2 separate regions of the Homo sapiens genome follow, and region 1 is linked to region 2. The links are contacts of gene promoters, found by promoter capture Hi-C in blood cells and fetal thymus (Javierre and others, 2016). All regions are on one chromosome and are shown on one strand. The core of a region is centred on a gene start or on the middle of the fragment in contact, and the rest is flanking DNA. Distances in the headings are between cores, read along the strand shown.

The links. Contacts are between HindIII fragments. The CHiCAGO score rates a contact against its expected background, and 5 or more counts as called.
Region 1: a fragment that was not itself captured here is called in contact with the fragment with the promoter of NBAS in region 2 in 2 of 17 cell types (M2 macrophages and total CD4 T cells); the score reaches 6.9 in M2 macrophages.

Annotation. Positions count from the first base shown.
Region 1 is chr2:13,047,172-13,053,831 of GRCh38, reverse strand. The region is part of intron 1 of LOC105373436 (a long non-coding RNA gene); the gene reads right to left. Among named protein-coding and RNA genes, the nearest start is that of MIR3125, 310 kb to the right of the region's middle. The HindIII fragment of the contact is 2,026 bases long and covers 748-2,773 here.
Region 2 is chr2:15,555,669-15,562,682 of GRCh38, reverse strand. It overlaps NBAS (NBAS subunit of NRZ tethering complex), which reads left to right and starts at 1,349. Exons shown (of 52, transcript NM_015909.4): 1 at 1,349-1,495; 2 at 4,049-4,103; 3 at 5,864-5,900. The coding sequence starts at 1,379. LOC105373440 (a long non-coding RNA gene) reads right to left here and starts at 535. Exons shown (of 4, transcript XR_001739297.2): 1 at 500-535. RefSeq lists an enhancer at 1,150-1,559. The HindIII fragment of the contact is 4,253 bases long and covers 1,323-5,575 here.

The sequences.
Region 1 (6,660 bases), core at 511-3,010, 2.5 Mb after region 2:
TTATGTCATTAAGAAATAGATTTGTTTCATAATTATAAAATTATATCACATATAAATTCCATCTTTAAACTGTAAATATGTTAAATATTTTAAACTGTAAATATGTTAATAATTACTATTATTGATAATAATAGTAATTATAATAATACTTTAACCCAATCCAAAAATATTATTATAACGTACAACATCTCAGGAAACAAAACAAATGTAAAAATCTCAATGAATACACTCATTTTAATTTCGATAGGTATGATGAAGTTATCAGTAAAAGACTTACAAACTTATATGCTACATGAGTATTGAAATATGGGGAGAAAGTAAAATTGAAATATGAGTTCAAAGAGAAAAAGAAAATGAAAGTTGTCTGTGTTAAAGAAGAGCTTGCTCATCTACTTTTAAATGAAGGACGGTGGATATCAAATTATTATAAGCTTTATGTTCCATTAAATACTATTAAAATAGTAATGTTATTGTTCGATGTCACTATTTACAACTTGTCAGGTACTGCATCCTTTCAATATAATTAAAGAAAACGTAAAAGTTAACATAAAAGACCTTTAAATGGAATACGTGGTTTTTCTTAAGTATACTATATTAGAGCATGAACTTCTCTGAAAGAAAAGAAATAGTGACGGGCATGTAGTAGATGTTTAAAAAAATTTAAAAACCTCGTTGAAATAGGAGACAGTTTACTATAGTTATTAAAGCTCATGATTCTCTTCAATATTTGGCTATAGACAGCAAGCTTCAATAAGCATTTCCATGGGCAAATAGACTCATTTTAAGCATGGATTTAACAACTATATCAATATTTCCAAACTAGCATTCCCTCTGTTTTTTACCTGATAAATGAGTATATTTACCAGATAAATGAGTATATTCCTACAAGGATTCCTACAAGTATATTCCTACAAGGATTTATCCTCCAAATAAATGAGTATGGTCCTACAAGTATATTCCTGCAAAATGTATAAATTTGTGTGGCCCCAGCATGAACAAGGCTATATGACCAGGATAGTGTGATCTTCAAGTCTCTCACCTCCTTCAGAGTATGAGCTGAGGAAACTAACTCCACCAGTCCGACTTCAACGTGTTAGCCTCAGGCTCACGGATAGAAGCTCCTCCAATTAACCCTGGCTGCAGCCAAGCAGCATTCTGTGGCTTTAACCAAGATCCTCATGTTCTTCAGAAAAGAAAGAGAATTCTGAAAATCGTATTTGAATTGTATTCATTATTGATCTCTTTTCAAACTAATATGCAATATGTATATTTACATTATGATATCATAAATATGGACATGTTAGAGAACATCAATGATTTCAATTATGGGAATGATTTTATCAATTGATTTATATAATCAATTGATATCATTAATATACCAATTGATTGATGCAGAATAAGGCTCCTGTTAACACAGCTGCATATATCTGAATTCCTTGAAATTGTGTTCTGATTTTAAAAGTTGTGGATATTCTATAACTACTTTTTGTTTTAAGTCTGAACATGTCTACTCTTGTTTAATTGTACCAATGAGGCAGACTAACAGTTAAGGTGCACACTACTGCATAATCCACCAGGCAAGGTCCACGTGAGTGTGTCTGGCATTTTGTCATAGCTTAATATTTGTTTGTACAGTAACCCATCCAAATAAGAAAATAGCATGTTATTTTCTTACAGATTTACCATTATGATTAAGTTGTGCTTTATCAGATGTGTTTTTAATTATTATGGTATTTCTATGAATTGGGGTGATTATTTCCTAACATATTTACAAATGTCATATTTCCAGCTTATATGATGAATTCTTAAAATTTTAAATACCCAGCTGTCCAAAACAAAGACAATTTTAAGAGTAATCTAACAAATACTACAAAATTCATGCTCAAGCTATTTGACACAGCTTTTGTGTCTGAAACAGTTTATCCTATTTGACAACAGTATATGAAACAAGGAAATATGCTGAAAACTCTCAACAAAGTCAATCAAAAATAGGGAAAACAGGAAAATAAAATAATGGCTCTCATGTAGTTTGATGTTGATAAATATTGTTCAAGTTCTAAATATTTGGAGCCAGGCACAGTGGCTCACACCTGTAATCCCAGAACTTTGGGAGGCCGAGGAGGGCGGATCACGAGGTCAAGAGATCGAGACCATCCTGGACAACATGGTGAAACCCCGTCTCTATTAAAAGTACAAAAATTAGCTAGGCCTGGTGATATGCACCTGTAGCCCCAGCTACTCAGGAGGCTGAGGCAGGAGAATCGCTTGAACCCTGGAGGTGGAGGTTGCAGTGAGCCAAGATCGTGCCACTGCACTCCAGCCTGGCAATAGAGCGAGACTCCGTCTCAAAAAAAAAAATTCTCAATATTTCATAAATATATTCAAATTCTCAATATTCACATGCTTTCATTTGTTTAAAGTTAAAAATTGTGCATTATATATATAGAATAGATGCAAATAATAAAGGTATATTCATTTGAATATGTATGTTCATTATAAATTAAAATAATTGATTGAATCGATCATTTAACTGTGAACCTAGCATTTTAATAAGAGCTAGAACAATATCAAATACTTTCACTTTCTTATATCCTTTTTTGCTAGCTCTTCCTTTTACCTCCTCCCTTCCCCAAAACAATCAAAATTCTAAACTTTGTTTATAATATCCTTAATATAAGTCATCTCTCCCTTTCATATGTAAAAACAATGCAGTCAGTTGTATTTGTGTTTGAGGTTTCTAAAAATTGCATCATGCTGTCTTCTACAAAAAGCTTATTCATGTAGCTGTGTGTAGTTGTTCATTTATTTTGACTGCTATATAATATCCATTGGGTGACTATATCATATCACTTATCAATTCTTCTGTCAAACAACAATTTTGCTATTATAAATAATGCCATAATGACACTTTTTGTGTATGTATATATAGTTCTACATATACAAAAATACACACAATATTTTGTCTCTAGATAATGCACAAATAAATTGAATTGCTGAGTCACAGCCTAAGTGACTGTTCTGTGTTATAACATGATACTAAACTGTTTTACAAAACTGTAAAATTGCCTTAAAAAATTGTACCCAACTGTACAATGGATGTTGTACCAACTTACATTCCCATCAGCATTCTGTTGTATTACTCATCAATCCATATGATCACAAAAACATAATAGTATAAGATATTGTATTTTATTGTCATTGTATGAGTATAAAAAGCTATTTCATAACAGCATTAATTTCATTTCCATAACTACTTAAGAGGCTGAACACCTTTTAATGTTTTTTAAGCCTGCCTCCATAGGCATGATATCTGCTTATTTCTTTGCTCCTTTTTTTAAGATTTTATATTATGTCATATTTTTAATAACTTTTTAATTTTTTAAATCCTCCTATATGCTTGTAATATTAATCATTTATTATTTATATGTATTTCAGCTATTTTATTTCAGTTTGTAAGTTGAGTTTTTCTTTCTTTTAATAAAAAACCTCTTTTCCATTTTAATATAGTTAAATTTTCTGAAATGTTCCTTTTCCTTATAGTTAATATTTTTTGAGTCATGTAACCCAAAGGTCATTGTGATTATCTTCTCAGATTTGAAGAATTTGCCTTTCACATTTCAGTTTTAAATCTATCTGGTGTGTGTGTGTGTGTGTGTGTGTGTGTGTGTGTGTGTGTGTGTGTCTTGTGGGGACATAATTTTATTTTTCTATCTAAATTATCAACTTTTCCCAGCAGCATTATTAAATATTTCCTTCTTATCTTAGTAATGCCATTTATATAAAATATTCATAAATGTTTGGGTCTATTTCTGGGATTCTTATTTGTCTTCTTTTTATTGCTTATTTTGTTTATCCTACTTCTATTTTCACAGTGCCTTAATTAATATGTCTATATAAGATTTGATAAATGATAGCACGATTACTTTTTTTCTAATTTTTCTTTTACAACAAAGCCATGGTTGCTCCTAAACATTTGTTTTCCTATGTAACTTTTAAAATCATCTTCTCAAATTTAAATTATTTGTTAATGTTTTCATTGAAATTGGATAAAATCTAGCCCTTATTATGGGGGAAAGTAATGATTTCTCTTTATTGTTATAAGATTTTTCCAATTATGTTGGTTTCTTTAAATGTAATATCATATTCTTCTTAAATAATTTATTATTTCTTAAATTGTATTTATAATTTACTGGCTTTAATCTTTGATGCTCTACTGCTATTATAAATGGTATCTCTTTTTAATCATATTTATGAATTCATAATTACTAATTAAATTTAGCTATCTTGATAGTCTCTGATATTTATTGTTACTATTATGTTTTTAGTGCTCTGGGTTTTCTATTAGACAATTTAGTGATTTGCAATCACTATGATTTGTAATCACAGTTTTAATTCATACAATTCAAATTTTATAATTATTTTATTGATTGATTAGGATCTACAGAACAATGTTGAATTGTTGTGAGTAAAGTGGAAATTTTTGCCTTTTTCCTGATGTTTAAAGGAATGCTTTCCAAAAACTTTGCCTATTTATGGTAGTATTTTAGAAAGTTTTTAAACATAGATGCCCTTTGTCAAGTTGGGCAAGACTTTTTACATTCCTAAACTTCTAATAGTGTTTTTGTAAATTTATGTTACATTTATATCAATCTTCTTTTATTTATTGACATCATTGTAATTTCTTCTTTCATTTTGAATGCAGTTGATATGGTTTAACTGTGTCCTCACCCAAATCTCATCTTGAATTGTAATTCCCACAACTCCCATGTGTCATGGGGGAATCCTGGTAGGTGATCATTGAATCATGGGGTGGGGGGAGGGTCTTTACCATGCTGTTCTCATGATATTGAATAAGTCTCATGAGATCTGATAGTTTTAAAAACGAGAGTTTTTCTGCACAAGCTCTCTTCTCTTGTCAGCTGCCATGTGAGATGTGCCTTTCACCTTCCACCATGATTCTGAGGTCTCCCAAGGCATGTGGAACTGTAAATCCAGAAAACCTCTTTCTTTTGTAAATTGTCCAGTCTGGGGTATGTCTTTATCAGCAGTGTGAAAATGGACTAATACAGTAGTAAATTTTATTTTCTAATATTGAATCATCACTTTATCTGGAATAAAGGTAAGTTGGTCATGATGAACTCGGTCTTCTATGTAGGTTTGGTTTTCTAGTATTGTGTTTAGAACTGTTATATTCTACATTTTATACAACTATTGATAATAATACAGTGTTAAAGACGGCCTTAAGGAATAAGTTGAATATTATTACTTATATTTGCATGATGTAGACTAGAAATATGTTTCCCTTCAGACAAGGAAACAAAAAAGTGATTTAATACAAGGTTCTGAAAAGTGTTACCTCAAATTGAGTAAGGCAATAAGTGGGCACAGAGAAGTATCATGTAGAGCTGAAATTCTTATGTTGGGTTGCACGGCTTCTTTATGCTGTTAATAAACAAGCAGATGAAAATTACGTGACAAATTTTAATTTCAACCTATTTAAAAACGGATATTGTGAGATCCTTTATTTTAAATGTTCTATTTATGTAAGTGATTTTATGACAAGTGTGATAAATGCACAAGTCTTTGAAAAGCTCTATATAAGCATGAGAGATTTTTATATTGAAAGGAAAAATATTTAACTTGAACCACACTATCGATACGGTTTAACCTTGTGAAAATTGCACAGCTGTCTATAAGTCATTAAATTTCTATCTATAAGTCATTAAAATAATCACTGAAGTATAATTATTCTATTTTTTTGGCTTGATCTTCAGAAAATCAGAACATATTGTGGAGATTTACATATTTTAGAAAAGTCATTATGGTAAGTTTCTCATATTTACCACTGATGGTATTCCAAAAGGACTCCTCTTCAGAGGTTTTCTTCACCTATGTTTTAAGTTCTGAATAATTATTTTTCCATTGTAACCATATTCTATTAACATTTTCTTATGATACAATAAAAAGAAAAACATTCAATAGCTCTAACCCAAAAGGATAGCATGGGTCCATACTGACAGGCTACAAATGAGCATTTCTTTTAGTATTTTAGTTTGTTTTACATACAGCTATGTGCTAAATGATTACAGAAGTAGAAAAAGTATCTAAAGCACAGTGTGTTGTTATTGTTCATTAATTTTAATATTTTATAGTTCCAAAGTAATATATGCTATTTTAAAAGATTTTTTTTTTTTTTTTTGAAATAGAGTCTTGCTCTCTCGCTGGGCTGAAGTGCAGTGGTGCGATCTTGGCTCACTGCAACCTCTGCCTTCCAGGTTCTAGCAAATTCTCCCACCTCAGCCTCCCAAGTAGCTGGGATTACAGGTGCATGCCACCACACCTAGCTAATTTTTGTATTTTTGGTAGAGATGGGGTTTCATCATATTACCCAGGCAGGTCTTGAACTCTTGACCTCAAGTGATCTGCCCACCTCTGCCTCTCAAAGTGCTAGGGTCACATGCATGAGCCACTGTGAAATTATGTACTTTATAGAAAAAAAACAAATAAATTCATAATCTCCCCTCATCAACTATTCAAACTTCCGCATATTAACCTCGTAAACATTCTTGAAATTGATCTTCCATTCATTTTTTTCATTTTCACGTAAAAATACCTAAAGCATTTTAGGATCCGTTAAAAACTGCTTGCTGACAAAGGATA
Region 2 (7,014 bases), core at 100-2,599:
ATGCATCTTGATGGATATCATGAATATAATTATCTCAAGGGATATTCAGTATTTGTGTTTCTTTTGATGTGAAACAGTGTAATACTTTGTACAGTATATATTCATTCATGTTACAGTAGGCTCTGCTTATAACTGTCCACAAAGAGGTATTTGTTGAATGAATGAATGAATGAACAAATGGGGTTGACCTTTTCGCTCCCTCCATGCGGGTTCTCAACCTATTATTTCAACTTTATTGCCCCTACACCCTTTCTCAACTTGGGTTCTATTCACCCGTCTTGTTGAGTACTAATTAGGAAAAAAAAAAAGGCAGGCTAGTGGGAGCAGGGAAAAACAAAGAGATAAGGCAAATTAGCTATACGTCTGTCTTTCTTCATGGTCCAAAACATATAAACAAAAGGAAGAAACAAATAAGCCATAGGTCTACTTTTCTTTATGGCCCAGGACATATGGCCCTTCTACCCAGATAACGTACTTAACTCACAAACTTCCTGCTTACCTTCAAATGCCTCAATTTCTGAAACACTTCAGCTGACAAAAAAAAAAAAAAAAAAAGAAAGAAAGAAAAAAAAAAAGCAAGTTAACTCCCTGCTACCTGGTGTTATCAATCACTCCAAGTTCCAGTCTATAAAATTCTCAACAAGCCTTTGTTTCCTAGCAATGAGCTCCTCCTCTGCTGAGTCGGCCCGCTGCTCCCTGGCAACGAACTTTCATACTTTCTTTAATCTGTCTTTCTTTATCTACCACTGTCTTGGTAAATTCTTTTACTCCCACACTGAGAAAGTCGTCACTCACTGGCGACACGTTGAAAGAGTTCTTTCAACTCTGTATTTCTGCCTCTGTCTCTGCTCATTCCATTTCCCGCTACTTGAAATGCTTCTCCAGTAGATTAAAATTCTGCCTATTGTTAAAGACGCAGGGACAAGCTCCACGTCCTCCAGGAAATCCCTGCAGACTCTGGCCTTCGTTGCCTTTTCTGAGCTCCTGTAGCATCCTTCCTCTGCTACCTTTCATTGGATAACTTTAGTTGTTTATTTTAAAACCACTGTTTGAACTCTCTCTACGTGTTAGGCAAAGAATATACAAATGAACATTAGCATTTCAGTGGGGTACCTTTACCATTTCTGTTTTATGGAAACTGAGTTATAAGAGAGGCTCAATGACTTGGCCGATCTCATGTAGATTAATGAACAAGGAGTGTATCAGGACCGGGACACAAGTCGTTCCCAAGACAAGCAATAGTCCCTGTCCTTCCTACTCATAAAAGGGTTAACCTAGCATTTCCTTGCCGTGAAACAAAAGCGGCCGCGGATAGAGAAGCTTGTCCTGTGAGGGATTCCGTAGAGACACTCCTCCGCTGCCTGAGTCCTCGGCGAACATGGCGGCCCCCGAGTCAGGGCCGGCTTTGAGTCCAGGCACTGCAGAGGGTGAGGAGGAGACGATTCTCTATGACTTGTTGGTCAACACCGAGTGGCCACCGGAGACTGAAGTACAGGTGAACCAGGCCCATCTACAGCAGCAGCCAGCTTGGCGCGGGCGCTTCGTGGGTAGAGCCACGTAGCAGGAGCCACGTAGGGGAGTGGAGACGGGTGGGTGGGGGACTAGGGCCGGTTGGCTTGTGCGGTCGCCTTGGCAACGGCACCTTGGGCTAGCGGGGGTCTAGGGCGGGGTGGGGTGGTGGTCCCTGAGATTCTTCCTGGGCTCAGAATTCGGTTGTTGGGGGCTGGAACTTCGTGCTCTGGGGAGCGTACGATCCCACTTTGGTTCTCAGTTTCGCTCTCTGTATTGGGAGGAGAGGGGATTGTTAGTGTCGCTCTCTGTATTAGGAGGGGAAGGCACAGCGCTGGACTCGAGGGTCCTTTCTCCTATCTGGACCCTCAGTGGTCCCTTCTCGCGGTCTGGCTAGGGCTAGTCTGGGCCGACGCTCAACTGCGATGGGAGAATTTTCCAGGACCTTACAGTCTGCAGCATCTGCCAGGCTGGTGCAGAGCGCAGAATCTGAGCCTTTACCCATACTGGGGGCTGGATCGCGCCAGGTCTTGTGTGTTTCAATAAAAGAGCATTTAATAAGGGTGTGCGTGTCCGTTCGTCTGTCTCGGTGTCACAGGTGCTGTGCTAGGTGCTAAGGATACAGAGATGAATATGTTTTCGTGGAGCTTCTCGTCTAGAGGGGAGACAGTCCCGTAAACGTTTTTCATAACCTAGCGTTTTATGCGCTATAGTTAGCGATGTGAGCAAAATGCCACGGAAGTGCAGAGTAAAGAGCTGCTGACTGGGATTGGGATCTCCGCTACAGAAGGGTTATAGAGGTTGATAATTTATGGACTGGATCTTGGGATTATCAGTTGTTTGGTAGTGAAGGCCTCCCGGGTCTGTGATGAAGAGTAGGAACCATGGATCCATGTTTATTTTATTTTATTTTTTATTATTATTATTTTTTGGATCCATGTTTATTTAACAGATATTTATTGAGTGCTTAACACGTGCCAGTTACTGTTTTAGACCCAGAGGAAGCAGCCAGATCGAAAAGAACCTTTATTAAAGATTATGTAGTCCAGCCCATGTGAGTTATCTTACATTTTTTCTGAGTGTTTCTTTGCTGGAGAAACGACTCATTTTTCAGCCCAAAGTTTGTATTTTTTTCCTCTGTAGCCTCCTTCCCACTGCAGTTTGTGCTTATCATGAATAATTTATTTTGTAGACGGGTAGAGATCTGCATATATTACTGTTTAATTTCAAGTACTTAGTTTGTCTTAATGTGAATATTTTTTGGGTTATGCAGCTAGGAAGCTGTTGCTGAGGCAGCTGGTTAGATAAGTTTCCACTCCTTAACACTCATTGGTTAATTGCAGTAATGTTTCAGAATGCTTACCATAAATTGATTCCAAAAAAGTAACCACAGAATTAACTTACTTTGAAACCCTTAGCACTTTGTTTTGTGTTTGTGTGTTGGGGGTGGGGGAGTTCAATTGATTTCTGCATTCTATCGATTTCTGCATTCTGTTGATTTCAGCTGTTGAATTATAAGCTCTTGGAGGGCAGACATCTGATTCATCTTTATATCTCTTCCCAGGGCCAAATTGTGTCTTGCATGAATCCAACAATCAATTCATGTTTATTGAGTGAAATAACTTTTCTGTGTTTTTTAAAAAAATCTGTCTACACTTACTGTATGTCCATTGTGCTTTTCTTGACAGCACTTTAGTGCATCTTATGCAGTGCCTAGCGTCATGAACCTACCCACGGTGTGTTCAGTCTATACTTATGGAATGGAATTATTTAATATAGCAATTACGTATCTGTGTATGTTTTGTTAGTAGCATTGTCTGTATAGATACACAACAGATAGTCAATGAATTGGCCTTGGAGATATGACCACTTTTCCTGTGAGCAAAACTTACAGCCTCAATAGAGTATGCTGAACTGGCAACCAGTATGGTCTTTGGCCTTGACTTCTCTTGTCTTTGGATTGGTTTTTGATTTGGAAACAGTTTCCAGCTTCAATCCTTGTTCTTTCCTGCAAGGTTAGTCCTGACATGTGCCTGTAGCTCTGCTATGCTCACTTTTCTCCTATTGTCCCGCGTCCTGTGTCTACTTTTTTTTTTTTTTTTTTTTTTTTTGAGGCAGGGTCTCACTCTGTCACCCAGGCTGGAGTGCAGTGGCATGATCAGGGCTCACTGTAGCTTCGTAGCTTCAACCTCCTGGGTCACCTCAGCTTCCCAAGTAGCTGGGACTATAGGCATGCACCGCCATGCCTGGCCAATTTTTGTATTTTTTGTAGAGATGAGGTTTTGCCACGTTGCTCAGGCAGGTCTGGAGCTCCTGGGCTCAAGCAGTCAGCCCACCTTGGCATCCCAAAGTGCTGAGATTACAGGCGTGAGCCACTGCACCTGAACATCCAGTCTTTAAGTAGTTTTAAGACACTGCTTCCCTGTGCCCAAAACTCTGAGTATTAGTAAATAAAAATAAGTTTACATATTGTATAAGTAATACTGGTCTAATACTACTAGAAGATTCAAATGTAAGTGTTTTTTGTTTTAAATTCCAGCCTAGAGGCAACCAAAAACATGGTGCATCCTTTATCATCACGAAAGCAATTCGAGGTAAATATAGCTTATTTCTCTACAGTAATGATATGGTTAACAGTTAAAATGTGTTCTTTAGACTTCTGATGTGGAGCCTAATAAAAGTAATGTGTGTTATCTGAGTTTAATTATATATATATTTATATATACACACATATGTATGTATATGTATACATTTGTATATTTACGCATGCACGTTTTTAGCTCTAATGCAGCTTAGAGCTAAAGTATATAGCTTTGGTTTAACCATTATGGATGTATTCTAGAACAGGTGTCCTCAATTCCTGGGCCATGGACTGGTACCAGTCTGTGGTCTGTTAGGAAACAGGCTGCATAGCAGGAGGTGAGCGATGGGTGAGTGAGCATTACCACCTGAGCTCCACTTCCTGTCAGATAAGCGGCAGCATTAGATTATCAGGGAAGTGCAAACCCTATTGTGAACTGCACGTGTGAGGGATCTAGGTTGCATGGAAAAATTGTCTTCCACAAAACCAGTCCCTGGTGCCAAAAAGGTTGGGGGACGCTGTTCTAGAAGGAATGAAGGTCAAAGCCAGTATGAGTCTCAGAAAGTCAGTGGATGTTGAAGGTGAAAATACACTGAGAGACTATTTTAAGAGGTCTATGTGGTGTTTCAGATAGATCTGGTCAGAGATACTCAAATTACAGATTTGATAAGCCAGGGTATTCATTTAACTCCTGACAAATTTTACGTATGAACTAACAAGAGTCTGAGAAAGGATTGAGCACTAGGTTTACTGAGCTGGTGCCATGACGGGTTTACCATATTCATTAATAGAGTCCTTTTATCAGACCAGAAAGGTGCCGTTACTCCTTTATGATTTTAGATAAGAAAACTTGCTCAAGGTCATTCATTTGGAATTTGACTGCATGTCTTTCTGGCTTCAAAGTCCATCCTTATACCAGTGAATTTAAGTTCCTTATAAAGAGAAAATTCATTTTCACAGAAGTTAAGTACTTGAAATTAACTGTAATCTTCTGATTATCCTTTTATCTTCTGATAAAATTACAGTTAATTATAGTTAATTTTATCTTCTGATACAAGAAGCACTAGCATATTCAGTTTTCATAATGACAAATGCTTTTAAATTTTGAGAATTTAGAAAATGTGTACAAATAATAAAAATTCATTGTAGAAAATACAGACACTATAGATAACTACAAATTAGAAAAAAATTTGTCCTCATACCACCTAGAGAGAATCTGTTATTCTTTAGATATTTTTCCATTGATATATACCTAACTGCATACACAGGTACACACATACATGTACATTTAGGATGATAGAAAGCATTGTTTTTTATAGCGTGTTAGAGGTTTTGTTTTCCGTGGGCTTTCCCATTTTAGGTATTACTGTTTTAAAAATCTTTGCTATAAAGTGTAAAATATATCTTGCTTTAATTTTTTATACAAATATTTTGGTTTCTAAGGGGTGATTATTATAACTTCTAGTCCATGGTTTCATGAAAGCTTCTTAGATTAAATTTAACATCTCAAACTGCTTTTATTTCTTGAACAGTTAGGAAATACTTGAAACTTTTGAATAACACACAAACATGGAATTTAATAAGTATATGACCCTGTAAATGTTACAGTGTATATTAGGTTATATTTAGTCTCTCATTTTAAGACTTGAGTTCTTTATTTTTTTTAATGACTCGCTCTGTAGTATATTTTAGATTTCTCATCTATAAATCTAATTTGAAAATGATTCTTAACAGCTGATTTATATTTGGCTTTGCCATTTCTTTTGATTACAGATCGTTTATTATTTTTACGCCAATACATCTGGTACAGGTGAGTCTTCGGTTCTTCAGAGAAACAGTATGAACATCAAATATAAACAATATTGTTCTATATATGATTTGTTTTCATAATTGAATTCTAGATCATGATAAAGTTGCTGACATTCAGGCAAACTCAGTATGAGACATTTCAAACATTTAGGTAGAATCTGACAAGATATCTCAGTAGACTTAGGGTAGTTTTTGTTCCCTTAGTTACTATTAAGAATGTCTCATGACAATTTCTGCTTCCTCTGATGACTATTCTCAGGCTTATCTTGAATGTCCATATGAAGCATCTGTAGCCTGCATATCTTTTAAAATACATTTTTGTTCTTGTCATGTCATCTCACTTGTGGTTAATATTCAACTGCTGTATATCAGAGAAGGTTCTTTAGGTTTCAGTTCTTGTATATTTTTTAATTCCTTGAGTGTTAAGTATATTTGCAGGGATGATGCTAATTTCCAGCTTTAGAAAGAACAAAGAAATTATTATTATGACAAAAAAGTTATAATTCTGCTTTTAGATACATGTGTAGGAATTGTTTTATAGAATTATTTACATAGATTGCTTCTTCGTTGAGGATATCTTGTCGTAAAGTTCCAGAGATAATATAGTTCCATAAAAGAGACCTTTGGCGTTCTCTAGGACTTGCTCCAACGTCTTTCTGCTTTTACTCTATGTATGTGTGTGTGTATGTGCATACATGTATATATGTATGCATATTTACAATTTCTATACTTAATTGTGTCACTTTTTTTGTGGGTGTGGGATATGATAGGATAGAGCAATGAGTAGGAAGAGAGAGTGGAAGGAGAGGATAGGAGTGTGGGAGGTGGGCTGTGTTTTCTGACTTCTCTAGGCGACAGCTTGTTAGTCCTGAACACCCTTGGATGAGGTGTCAAGCTTGTCTTGTTCAGGTTGCTGCTTGATAATTCTTTTTTTTATTTATTGAGAAGGAAGACTCAAAAAGTTAACTCTGCTACAAGCCCTGTCCTCTGTGTGAGAACCTTATGATCAGGCATCAGAAGTAGGTATCTTTTTGTCTCCCTTCCTCCTGAGAAGCCTTTTTCCTTGAATCATTGTACAGGTTGCAAATGCACCATTAAGTGATTCATCTGTCTCA